Regions from separate parts of the Homo sapiens genome. Here region 2 is linked to region 1. The links are contacts of gene promoters, found by promoter capture Hi-C in human tissues and cell types (Jung and others, 2019). All regions are on one chromosome and are shown on one strand. The core of a region is centred on a gene start or on the middle of the fragment in contact, and the rest is flanking DNA. Distances in the headings are between cores, read along the strand shown. Region 1 holds the start of GDAP1L1 (ganglioside induced differentiation associated protein 1 like 1). Region 2 overlaps HNF4A (hepatocyte nuclear factor 4 alpha).

What was found. Contacts are between HindIII fragments. The study calls those that stand out against the background at their distance.
Region 2: a contact is called between a fragment that was not itself captured here and the fragment with the promoter of GDAP1L1 in region 1, in 1 of the 25 tissues and cell types used here (lymphoblastoid cells).

The regions. Positions count from the first base shown.
Region 1 is chr20:44,243,645-44,250,156 of GRCh38, forward strand. It overlaps GDAP1L1 (ganglioside induced differentiation associated protein 1 like 1), which reads left to right and starts at 3,664. Exons shown (of 6, transcript NM_024034.6): 1 at 3,664-3,870. The coding sequence starts at 3,691. RefSeq lists an enhancer at 3,366-4,164 and a silencer at 4,525-4,819. The HindIII fragment of the contact is 5,443 bases long and covers 580-6,022 here.
Region 2 is chr20:44,381,201-44,387,712 of GRCh38, forward strand. The region is part of intron 1 of HNF4A (hepatocyte nuclear factor 4 alpha); the gene reads left to right. HNF4A-AS1 (HNF4A antisense RNA 1) reads right to left here. Exons shown (of 3, transcript NR_172878.1): 2 at 3,323-3,472. Among named protein-coding and RNA genes, the nearest start is that of HNF4A-AS1, 11 kb to the right of the region's middle. The HindIII fragment of the contact is 4,459 bases long and covers 1,541-5,999 here.

The sequences.
Region 1 (6,512 bases), core at 2,414-4,913:
CCATGCCTGGCCTTCATATTGCTAATTTCTTAATATGAAAATTGTATTTTATGTAAGAAAATGACCTATGTTAGATACAAATTATGTTGATACTTTATAAATATCTACTACTGATGTATTTAGTTGGAGAAATATCATGATGCCTGTAATTTATTTCAAAATACTTCACTCCCCAATTAAACACATATGGCAAGATTTTCACAATACTTATATCTAGGTGATAGATATATGGATGTTCATTGAGTTACTTTCATATGTTTGAAATTGTTTTGTAATAAGAAGAAAAAAATAAAAGCAAACTAAAGACATACCATTTTCTACCCATAGATTCACAAAGAAAAAGTTTTAAAATAGGCTGCGTTGGCAAGGGTGTAGGGAAATGGGCACTTTGGTACAACCTCTTTGAAGTGATGTTTGGCAAAGCCATGCCCTTCCATCCAGCAATTCCGCTTCTAGGAATTTAGCATACAGAGTATATAGAAATATGGGCAAATATATATAAATAAGGATATTCACTGCAGCTTTATCTTTATTATAAAAGATGAGAAACAACATATATGTCCATCAATAGAAGTTGTTAAGTAAATTTTTTGTGGTCTATTCATGTAGTACAGAGTCCTACAAAGTATAGGGTAGACGTGTTGTGCTGATAGGAAACTCTTTCCAAGATGTCTTGCTAAGTGAACAAGCCGAAGAGCAGGCCAGTGTCTGTCTGTCTGTCTTATTGCTGTATCTCTGGTGCCTAGCAACGCACCTGGCACACAGTGGGTCCACAATTAATATTAGTTGAGGGAACGAACACACATCTGAGCATGACTGCTGTGAGTCAGGCTCCCTAAATGCCACCAGTTTCAAGTCACTGATAGGGGCCAGATTTTCCACCGCCATCAAATTTCCATCCAACAGGATGGGCACTCCTGGTCCAACTGCTGGCATGCAAACCCGGGTGCCAGCTATTCTGGGTTTTCTTGAACCTGGAAATCCAGATATTTGTGTGAAATTGCTCATTTTAAAATTTGTCAATAAAATAACACTGGGTCAGGCATAACAGAACATATCTGCAGGGTGGGTCCAAGCCAACACATTGTCAGTTTGCAACTTCTGCATTAGCGCATTTAATTTTTGCCACACTCCCGGAGGCAGTATGTTCAGTAACATAGCACTTGCTGCTATAACAGATACAAACCTCAGTGGCTTCACACAATAGAAGTTTATTTTTCACTCATATAAAGTCCAGCTGGCAGCAGGTGTGGGGAGGAACAAGGAGTTTTATCAACCTTCCCTTGGGGCTTTCAAGTTCCTCCAGGCATTGATATTCAATAGGCGGATGGGAAGAGAGAGTGAAGAATCATGGGGATTTTATGGGCAGCAGCATTCCTCACTTCTGCCCACATTCATTGGCCACAAGTCAGTCATGTTGTCACCTCACCTCAATGCAAAGTGGAGCAGTCCCTGGTGAGTGGCAGCCACTTTCCAGCAACTACTGTGTCCTATGGACTGAGAACACAGATCTCTGGGTGACAGTGATCCATCTCTGCCTCATGCAGTTATCATTATCTCTATTTCACAGATGATGAGCCGAATCTCAGGGAGGGTAAGTGACCTGTGAGAAGTCACACAGCCAGGAGCCCTATCTTACTGCCTCCAATCCAGGGATCTTTCCTCTAGCTCAGTGTTTCCCAGCTGTGTTAGACCATTCTCACATTGTGATAAAGAAATACCCGAGACTGGGTAATTTATAAAGAAAAGAGGTTTAACTGGGTAATTTATAAAGAAAAGAGGTTTAATTGGCTCGTGGTTCTGCAGGCTGTACAGGAAGCATGGCACTGGCACCTGCTTGGCTTCTGGTGAGGCCTCAGAAAGCTTCCAATCACGGTGGAAGGCAAAGGGGAAGCTGGCATATCACATGGTGAGAAAGGAAGCAAGACAGAGTAGGGGAAGATGTGCCACATACTTATTTATTTATTTATTTATTTTTGCTTTCTTAATCTGTTCCTGACCACATACTTTTAAACAACCAGATCTCACAAGAACTCACTGACTATTGCAAGGACAGCACCAAGCCAAGAGGGGTCCACCCCCATGATCCAATCACCTCCTACCAGGCCCCACCTCCAGCACTGGGGACTACATTTCAACATGAAATTTGGTGGAGACACAGATGCAAACAGTATCACCAACCTTGCATCTCATGAGAATCACCTATGGCACTTGTTAAACCTACCAGATTGTGACCCTGGGAGCATACAGGATTGAATTTTCCTTCAAGACATACCATGCCCTTTTTTGCAAAATTGAACAGTGAACAACATCAAAAATTTCACAAGAGTGACAAAAAAAGTATGCTGAACCAGGGAGGCTAATGTAGCAACTGAGACTTGATAGAAAATGTAGCTACAGGCTTTGTGGCAGCCAAGGCAAAAAGGGAAACCCAGGGACCACAGAGCATCTGTTATCTGGTAGAAGGAGGTTCACCGGTTCCTTATGAGCCAGGCTTACAGCCTGGGGGATGAGGTACCCAGGAGTCCTTAGCAGCATGATGGATGGGGGTGGGCGGTCGGGGGTGAGAGGGAGGACTGAGCTTATCTTCCTAGTACATCTATTTGCATCTGTTGTCCCAGGGTCTGCTTCTGTATTTCCTCAATGGTAAATAAATTAAAACACAGTATTTATAGTAACGGAAGTATAGGTGTATTAAGGAACTTTGCTGAAGTTCTTATGTATGTTTAGGGCAGACTTTGTGACAGCAAAGGCATTATGGGCTTTCTTTGGGCTCATCTGGTTGTGCCTTGGTAGAAGATGCAACCTTGAACAAATGACTTGACATTTCTGAGCCTCGCCTTCCTCATCCGTGAAAAATGATTATTGTGCAGATGAAATGAGATGATGCATGTAAGGGGCTCAGGTTGATAAATGGTTGCTGTGCCATTGTTTATATTCTTACCATATTATCATGACCTTATGGCTAGGAGCACAGACTCTGGAGCCAGACTGCCTGTGTTCACATCAGCTCCACCACCTACCAGCTCGATGACCTTGGGCAAGGTCACTTAGCCTCTCTGTGCCTCAGTTTCCTTCTCTGTAAAATGAAGCTAATAGGACTATTGTGAGAGCTAAATGGGCTGATAGTTGTAAAGCTCTTAGAACAGTGCCTGGGCATACAGTAAGTGCTATGTAAGTGTCTGTTAAATAAATCATAGTCTGTTCCCTCTGCCCTTCGAGGCCCTTCAGGGGAAAAGTTAGAAGATAACAGCTTCAAAGCGAGACAAGTAATTTCCAGACACTAATTTCTAAAGGAATAGCTCTCTAGAATCCCAGTTAAGAAGTATTTGCCCCTTAGAAGACTGAGAGGCAGGAAAGCGTTGATGAGGGTGGAATCTTTGGCAGGTGCCTGGCCCAATACACTGAGCTGTTTGGGGGGCACGACCCACTTCCTCGGGCTCCTTCCACCCTTGCAGGGAGCCTGACACTGAGGGCTGGCGGCTTTTCTGGCGCGGGCCAGGGGGAGGAGGAGAAAGGAGCTCCCGGGATCCCCTCGCCCCCTCCCCCAACTGCCCGGTGAGTAATGACATTCACGGAGCGGGGAGGGAGGGAGGAGAGGGGCAGGCTCGGCGAGGCCATGTGATGCTGGGCGAGAGAGAGCCGCCGCGCCGGAGCCTCCTTCTTTCCTGCCTCTGATTCCGGGCTGTCATGGCGACCCCCAACAATCTGACCCCCACCAACTGCAGCTGGTGGCCCATCTCCGCGCTGGAGAGCGATGCGGCCAAGCCAGCGGAGGCCCCCGACGCTCCCGAGGCGGCCAGCCCCGCCCATTGGCCCAGGGAGAGCCTGGTTCTGTACCACTGGACCCAGTCCTTCAGCTCGCAGAAGGTAGAGCCGGGCCGGGAGCCGCCTGCGCCGGTGGCCAGGAAGCTTGGGGAGGGGAGCCCCAGGGCTTGAGGGATCTGAGGGCGGCGAAAGACTGGAGGGGGGAACCTGGGGTTTGGGGGTCCCGGAGGTCGGGGGACGCAAGGGTTCCTTCCAGGACTGCTCACCTGGGAAGCGACAGGCCCTGTCTGGGCCCCAGGAGCACAGTTCTCAATTTTAGGAGCATCCATTCTGCCTCTTTCCCTCCCAGAAACAGCCGGTCTGTTGGGGTGCGGGGCGGGTTGGGGGGGCTGAGAAAAGAGACAAAGGCGAGGGGAAGGGAATGGGCACTGCTGGGAAGGCGGCTTGGTGGGGTGGGAGGTGCTGCTGCTGCGGGGAGGGAGAAGAAGCGCTACTTGGGGTCCAGCCTCGGTAGCCCCCTCTCAGTCGCTCCCTGCACGCTGCCGTCCCGGACACTGCAGGCCCCCAGGTCACAGCTCCTCTGCCCCTCTGTCTGCGGGCCGCCTTCTGGCTAGGGCTTGGAGGGTCTGTCCCCAGTCGTCGCCCACCCCCCACTCCGTGTCTTGAGCTGAGAAGGAAGGAGTTAAACCATCCCCTCACACCAGCTCGGCTCAGCCCATCAGGTCTGTTTTGCTCTTAAAGGCACAGAGTGGCCCCAGCCCCTAAAATGCTTCTAGGACCTAGGGGACCTGAGGGGCAGTTGGAAATCCAACTGGATTCTCAGGGTTCCCGCTTCCTGGGGGTAAGGCTGTGAACTGCACCCCTCAGACAGGGGCGCCTCTAGGGGCGCAATCTCCCACCCTGGGCGGTTGTCCCGTCTCTGGGCCACGGATTCAGCACCATGGCCAGGGCCCAGAGGCAGGTCCTGCAGGGGCCTAAGCGGCACCACTGCCTGACCTTCTGACTCCTCTTCTTCCTGGAAGATCCTTTTGTTCCATTCGTTCATTTTCCAGATGGAAAAACAGAATCCATGAAGAGAAAGGGCCTTGGAACTCAAAGACTTAGATTTGAGTCTTGGTCCAGGCTCATTTCATCATCTGGAAAGCGGGATAGTGATACAACAATAGCCACTTCCAATCCCAACCCCTTCTCAGGGTTGCTGATATGGTTGTTGAAGAAGGGATATAACTTAGGAACTTAGTGTTATAGACTGGGACTACTCAAACTTGAGCGTGCATTAGAGTCCCTGGATGATCCTGGTTAAAACCCAGACTGCTGGATTCTACCCCAAGGATCCTGATTCAGTGGGTCTGGAATGGGGTCCAAGATGCTGCCTTTCCAACAAGCGACCAGGTGATGCTGATGAAGCTGGTCCACCAATCATATTGCCCACTGACTCACTGTGGAGCTGTGGACAGGTCCCTTTGCCTGTCCAAAGCCTCAGCTTTATAATCTGTAAAATGGGGTGAATGCAGTAACTTCCTCAGAGGGCTATTATGAGAGTGAAATGTGATATGATGCACAAAAGTACTGATGATGGCAGTGCCTGGCGAGAGGTCAAGACTCTGTTGATAATGAGTGTTATGATTTTTTTTTTTTTTTGAGACAGAGTCTTGCTCTGTTGCCCAGGCTGGAGGGCAGTGGCATGATTTTGGCTCACTGCAACTTCCGCCTCCTGGGTTCAAGTGATTCTCCTGTCTCAGCCTCCTGAGTAGCTGGGACTACAGGCATATGCCACCACACCCGGCTAATTTTTTTATATTTTTGGTAGAGACAGGGTTTCACCATGTTTGCCAGACTTGTCTCAAACTCCTGATCTCAAGTGATCCACTCACTTTGGCCTCCCAAAGTGCTAGTATTACAGGTGTGAGCCACCAGGAGCGGCCGTTATGATGTTATTAAGGCACTAGGTAAAGGAGGGGCCAGAGTTAATCAAGGTCATACTGGAGTCATCCACAAATTCTGCACATGCTTGCACGTGCCAGGCCTCATTCAAGGAGCCTGGGGATGGGGGCTTTGGAGATGAATCAGACTGCCCTTCAGAGTCTAGAACTTCCTCCCCGCTAGAACCTCAGGAAGTGGGCCCCAGCGGCTGGGACCAGACAGGGGGCAGGGAGGTGGCATCTCCCACAACCATATCATGAGGGAGCCTCCTGTTCTTTGCCTCATGAAATATTTCCTATGTAGCGTGAGCTCAGGGCTGAGGTGGCCCCTGAGTCAGGATGAGACCATCTGCTGCAGCCCCACTTTTGACCAAGTCTCTGGCCAAGCTAACCTGGGCATCCTTCTGTCTCCCATACCAGGGCCTTCCCCCTACCCAGGGGCCCATGGTGGATTCTAGAAGCAGTGTAGCTTGGCAGAAAGGGCATGGGCTCTGCAGTCATATAGTCCTGGGTTCTATTCTCGTCTTGGCTACTTACTGGCTGAGTGACCTTGGACAAGTCACTTTACCTCTCTGTGCCTCAATGTCCCTATCTGGAAAAGAGGATTTTACATCCTACCCTGCAGAATTCCTTTAGAAGACATAGGCATATGTTAACTTCCTGGCATGTAGTAGGAGCTTAGCAGATGAGTTTTCTTCCTTCTCTCCAATCCTGAAGGGCCTTAATTATATAAAGAGGGCAGTCCCCCATTGTCAAGCATCTAAATAGCCTGTCTTTAATGGCACATGAAATATGAATGGAAAAAAATAGTCCACCTCTAGG
Region 2 (6,512 bases), core at 2,520-5,019, 140 kb after region 1:
TGAGCCTCAAGTTTCCTCCCTGTAGCATCCACATTTTGGTCCTCGTTCATTCTCTGAAGCTGTAGGAATCAGTGAGAGCTTTTTTTTTTTTTTTTTTTGAGACAGAGTTTTACTCTGTCACCCAGGCTGGAGTGCAGTGGCACGATCTCTGCTCACTGCAACCTCCAACTCCAGGGTTCAAATGATTCTCCTGTCTCACTCTCCTGAGTAGCTGGGACTACAGGCACATGACACCACATCTGGCTTATTTTTGTATTTTTAGTAGACGGGGTTTCACCATGTTGGCCACGTGAAACTGGTCTCAAACTCCTGGCTTCAACTGATCTGCCTGCCTCAGCCCCACAAGTGCTGAGATTACAGGCGTGAGCCACTTCACCCAGCCAGTGGGCACTCTTTTCCAAAGGAAAGTACTTTGTTGCCTTTTTTTTGAGACTGAGTCTCAATCTATCACCCAGGATGGCGTGCAGCGGCACGATCTCAGCTCATTGCAACCTCTGCCTCCCAGGTTCAAGTGATTCTTGTGCCTCAGCCTCCCAAGTAGCTGGGATTACAGGTGACTGCCACCACGCCCGGCTAATTTTTGTGTTTTTAGTAGAGACAGGGTTTCACCATGTTGGTCAGGCTGGTCTGGAACTCCTGACCTCAAGTGATCCACCCACCTCAGCCTCCCAAAGTGCTGGGATTACAGGCCTGAGCCACCGCACCCGGCAGGAAAGTACTTTGAATTGAGTAAATAACGCAACTATATGCTGGGCAGCTACCTGCCAGGTTTATAAGGTTTAACACATTTACTCCACAAAGCAATCTATGAAAAGGTCCTATCATTGATTCCTATTTTATAGATGAAGCAAATAAGGCTTGAAGAGCTTATGATTTTAGCAAGGTCCAACAGCTATGTAAATGGCACCACTGATATTTCAAAGGCAATGGCCCTGACCACTCTGCTACACCACCTTTCTCTCCTCTTCTCCAATACCCAGCCCAAAACTCTTTTGGATCTTTGATTATTCTTCAAGGGGCATAGCTTTCTTTCTTTCTTTCTTTCTTTTTTTTTTTTGAGACGAACTCTCGCTCTGCTGCCGGGCTAGAGTGCGGTGGCGAGATCTCGGCTCACTGCACCCTCCGCCTCCCAGGTTCAAGCAATTCTCCTGCCTCAGCCTCCCAAGTAGCTGGGACTACAGGTGCGTACCACTACGCAAGGCTAATTTTTGTATTTTTAGTAGAGATGGAGTTTCACCATGTTGGCCAACATGATCTCGATCTCTTGACCTCGTGATCCGCCCGCCTTGGCCTCCCAAAGCGCCAGGATTACAGGCATGAGCCATGCCGCTGCACTCGGCCTAAGGGGCATAGCTTTCTCATCCTCTGCCATCCTAGGAAAATTTTAAGTATTCATATTAAAATGAAAACTAAACACAATTGTCCATATATGCTCCTTAGGAGTAGAATGCCAAGGACCTCTTAGCTCCTCTGACCTGGGAACTACATTCTCTCTAATGATACATACGACTGGGTTAGAGGTTTGGGCAGCTGCCACCAAGTAAAACCTCTAGAATTTTGCTATGTCACTTTCTGCTAAGGTAGCTTTTCCCATCTACACTAAATAAATAAATCATCCAGGTGATTTATTTTTAACCAATGCAGAGGATTTTTTACTTATCTCCATGGAGTTCAAACATTTCTCCAGGCTGGGTGGGGTGACTCACGTCTGTAATCCCAACACTTTGAAGACTAAGAAGGGGCAGATTGCTTGAACCCAAGAGTTCCAGACCAGCCTGGGCAACATGGTGAAATCCCATATCTACAAAATATAGAAAAATTAGCCAGGGGTGGTGGTCCACACATGTAGTCCCAGCTACTCTGGAGGCTGAGGTAGGAGGATCATCTGAGCCTGGAGACTTGGAGGCTGCAGTGAGCTGTGATGGCGCCACTGCACTCCAGCCTGAGTGACAGAGACCCTGTCTCAAAAAAAACAAACAATAATTCACCAAATCTATTTGGATCTGGATCCTGCCATCATTTTATAGGTAATGCCTCCATAGCACTCACTAAGTGCCAGGCACACTTCTAAGCCCTTTTTATACATTAACACAAATAATCCCCACCACGACCTAATGCCATACACATCATTATGGTCACTATTTTGCAAATAAGAAAACAGTCACAGAGCAGTTCAGTAACTTGTCCAGGGTCACACAGCTAGTCCATGACTGAACCAGAATTTAAGCCCAGGATGTCAAGTTCCAGAATTGGTACACTCAGCCTCAATACTGTGCTGCCTTCAAATATTCTGACAATCTTAGACAGCTTTGGGGATCCAAAAGATTGAGAAGTACTCTTGGGGACCTCTTTTTTTTTTTTTTTTTTAAATACGGAGTCTCAACTCTCTCCCCCAGGCTGGAGTGCAGTGGTACAATCTCAGCTCACTGCAACCTCCGCCTCCTGGGTTCAAGTGATTCTCCTGCCTCAGCCTCCCAAGAGGCTGGGATATTACAGGCACATGCCATCATGCCCAGCTAATTTTTGCATTTTAAGTAGAGACAGGATATCACCATGTTGGCTAGGGTGGTCTTGAACTCCTGACCTCAAGTGATCTGCCCACCTCAGCCCCCCAAACTGCTGGGATTACAGGCATGAGCCACCGCACCTGGCTCCCATTTTTTTTTTAAGACGGAGTTTCACTCTTGTTGCCCAGGCTGGAGTGCAATGGAGCGATCTCGGCTCACTGCAACCTCCGCCTCCCAGGTTCAAGCAATTCTCCTGTCTCAGCCTCCTGAGTAGCTGGGATTACAGGCACATGCCACCACACCCGGCTAATTTTTGTATTTTTAGTAGAGATGGGGTTTCCTCATATTGGTCAGGCTGGTCTCGAACTCCTGACCTCAGGTGATCTTCCCACCTCGGCCTCCCAAATTCCTGGGATTACAGGTGTGAGCCATCACGCCTGGCCCCTGGCTCCTTTTTTTTTTTTTTTTTTTTTTTTTTAAATAAAGACCAAAGGTCCAGAGGCTTTGAAAGGCAAATAGTATTAAGTCAGGATTTGATATCAGGATTTCTTTCATTCTGTTTATTTTCTCATTGCTTTCTACTTATGATACTGTTTCATTTGGTAGTAATAATATTTCTTTCTAAAATAAATTGAAGTAAAAAGAAGTGAGTTGATGTAAGAAAAATGTTACAGATATGAAAAAATCATAATGGTCATTAAAAAATTAGTGAAACTTTGGAAAGACTGTGTTCAGTCAAGTGAAGTGAAGTTAGCTTGCAACCACAAAAAAACCCCTAAGTCTCAATGGTTTGAACAGCAAAGTTAATTGCTCACCTATAGTACACGCCCAGCATGGGTCGGCAGGGGGCGCTCCGCGTTGTGGAACGATTCATATCTATACTTGCTTCCCCAACAAGGGCAGCACTGGCCTTTAAAGCTTCTGCCCAGGTGTGACACAGGTTGTTTCTGCTCACATCTCGTTACCTGAAACAAGTAACATGGTCACATCTCATTTCAAAGGAAGCAAGAAAATGTAATCCCCATCATGTGCCGGAAAGGAGAGAAATAGAATAGTTGAGAACAGCCCTCAGAGAGACTATAAGTAAGGGGGCATAAAAGATGGGTCTAGAGAGATAGGCTGAGTCATGACTCACTGAATTTGTCTGACGTAGATCATGATGGCCCATCCCACCAAGTGGCCAACATTTGTTCCCAGAAAAGGGAGTGTGATGATCCCCCAGAAAGAACACAGTCTGACAACATTATTCTGATGAGCAGACACACCTCTCAGGCTGCCACTCAGGAGTCCTTTTGGGTGGGGAGGTGGGGATGCTGATATTTCCTAAGTGGTTTCAGCTGAACTCTGTGATCTTTTTTTTTTTTTTTTTTTTTTTTTTTTGCCTATTCCCTGAAGGGAGATGAGGCAATTTGGGCTTTGGCTGAGCTAGGGTTTGGTTCTGTCACCACTTGCTATCTAGGGAAGGGTAATAATTGGAAAGGAGAGGAATTCAAGGAGAGGGTCCAGGTGGGTAGGGAGCCTCACACAGGGTTTGGTGATCAGGTGATTGAGAGGCCTCCTTGAGGAGTTTTCAAAGTGCGGTCTGAGGGCACCTGGTATCAGAAGTGCCCAGAAGCTCATTAAACACTTGGGCCAGGTGCTCCATGGCTCCTGCCTTTAATCCCAGCACTTTGGGAGGCTGATTTGCTTGAGGCTGGGGTTCAAGACAAGCCTGGACAACATAGCAAGACACCTCCCCCCGTCTCTATTTTTTAATTAATTAATTTGTTTGTTTATTAATTTATGGACTCTCACTCTGTCGCCCAGGCTGGAGTGTAGTGGCCTGATCTCTTCTCACTGCAACCTCCGCCTCCCAGGTTCAAGCAATTCTCCTGCCCCAGCCTCCCAAGTAGCTGAAATTACAGGCATGCACCACCACACCCAGCTAGTTTTTGTACTTTTAGTAGAGACAAGGTTTCACCATGTTGGCCAGGCTGGTCTTGAATTCTTAGTCTCCAGTGATCCACCTGCCTTGGCCTCCCAAAGTGTTGGGATTACAGGCATGAGCCACCATGCCCCACCTCTATTTATTAAATATTTTCTTTTTTTTAATCTGATGACTAGGCCCACTGTTGGTCCTGGCACCTGGAGGTAGGACCCCAGGCATCTGATTTTTTTTGTTGTTTTTTTTAAGGCAGGGTCTCGCTCTGGCGCCCAGGCTGGAGTGCAGTGGCACGATCTTCACTCACTGGAACCTCCACCTCCCAGGTTCAAGCGATTCTCCTGCTTCAGCCTCCCGAGTAGCTGGGATTACAGGCATGCACCATCACGCCTGGCTAATTTTTTTTTTAATAGAGACAGGGTTTCACCATGTTGGCCAGGCTGGTCTTGAACTCCTGAACTCAGGTGATCCACCCACCTCCCAAAGTGCTGGGATTACAGGCGTGAGCCACCGTGCCCAGCCACCATCTGATTTTTTTTTTTTTTTTTTTTTTTTTGAGACAGAGTTTTGCTCTTGTTAACCAGGCTGGAGTGCAATGGCACGATCCCGGCTCACCACAACCTCTGCCTCATGGGTTTAAGTGATTTTCCTGTCTCAGCCTCCCAAGTAGCTGGGATTACAGGCATGTGCTACCACGCTCGGCTAATTTTGTATTTTTAGTAGAGACGAGGTCTCACCATGTTTGGCAGGCTGGTCTCGAACTCCTGAACTCAAGTGGTCCACCTGCCTCAGCCTCCCGAAGTGCTGGGATTACAGGTGTAAGCCACCTCGCCCAGCTGCCATCTGAATTTTTAATAATGGCCCCAGATGATTCTTATGGACACCAAGATTTGAGAAGCATTGAATGACTGAGAGAAAATTTCTTGTAAGGGTAGAAGCCCAGCACAGTGGTTCTCAGTGGAGATAATTTCAACCCCCAAGGGACATTTATAAATGTCTGGAGATAGTTTTGATTATCACACCTTGAGGGTAGGGAAAAGTGCTGCTGACATCTAGTGGCTAGAGGCCAGACATGCTGCCAGGGACAATGTACAGGACAGTCCCCACGACAAAGAATTCTCTAGCCCAAATGTCATTAGTGCTTAGGTCAAGAAACCCTGGTTAGCCATTAAGAGTTTGAACCTTTCTAAATGTTGGAGCACATACGATTTTTAAATCTTCAATTTTTATTTTATTTTCCAAAATTTCTACTATATGCATAGAATCCTTTTCATTGAATACCTGTTACGCACCGAGCACTTGAAGTTTACATCACTATCAGTTCCTCTTGAAAGACCTTTTCAGTCATTCATCCAACAACTATCCATTAAACACTTACTAAAATGTATTCCAGGCCAGGTGTGGTGGCTCATGCCTGTAATCCCAGCACTCTGGGAGGCCGAGGTGGGTGGATCACCTGAGGTCAGGAGTTTGAGATCAGCCTGGCCAACATGGCGAAACCCCGTCTCTACTAAAAATTAAAAAATTAGCTGGGTGTGGATCCCAGCTACTCAGGAGGCTGAGGCAGGAGAATTGCTTGAACCTGGGAGGCGGAGGTTGCAGCAAGCCGAGATCGTGCCATTGCTCTCCAGCCTGAGTGACAAGAGCGAAACTTCATCTTAAAAAAAAAAAAAAAAAAAAAAAAAGAAGTATTCCAGGCAGAGGGGAAAGTATATGCAAAGGCCCCCAAGACAGGAAAGAAAAACTTTAAAATGGCTAGTATGCCTGCTGCTGATAGGGGTGGGGGCAAGTGGAATGAAATGAGGTTGGACACGGAGGGATATAAAAACAAGGGCGTGCATGGCCTCACAGTGTTAAGTGGGAGTTGTATGAGTTTTGTTATAAATGCATAGGAAGTCATAAAAATTTAAGTAGAAGAGGATCTGAGCCAATGTACATTTGTACAAGATCACCCTTGGCCCCTGAGTGAAGAGTAGGGGGTAGGGAAGCCACAGGAGAAAAAGTGAAGGGGTGGGGTGGAGGCAGGCGGGGGGGGGGGGAGGCGGGGGGGGCGGTGGAGCGGGGGAGATCCCCTCCCCAACCCT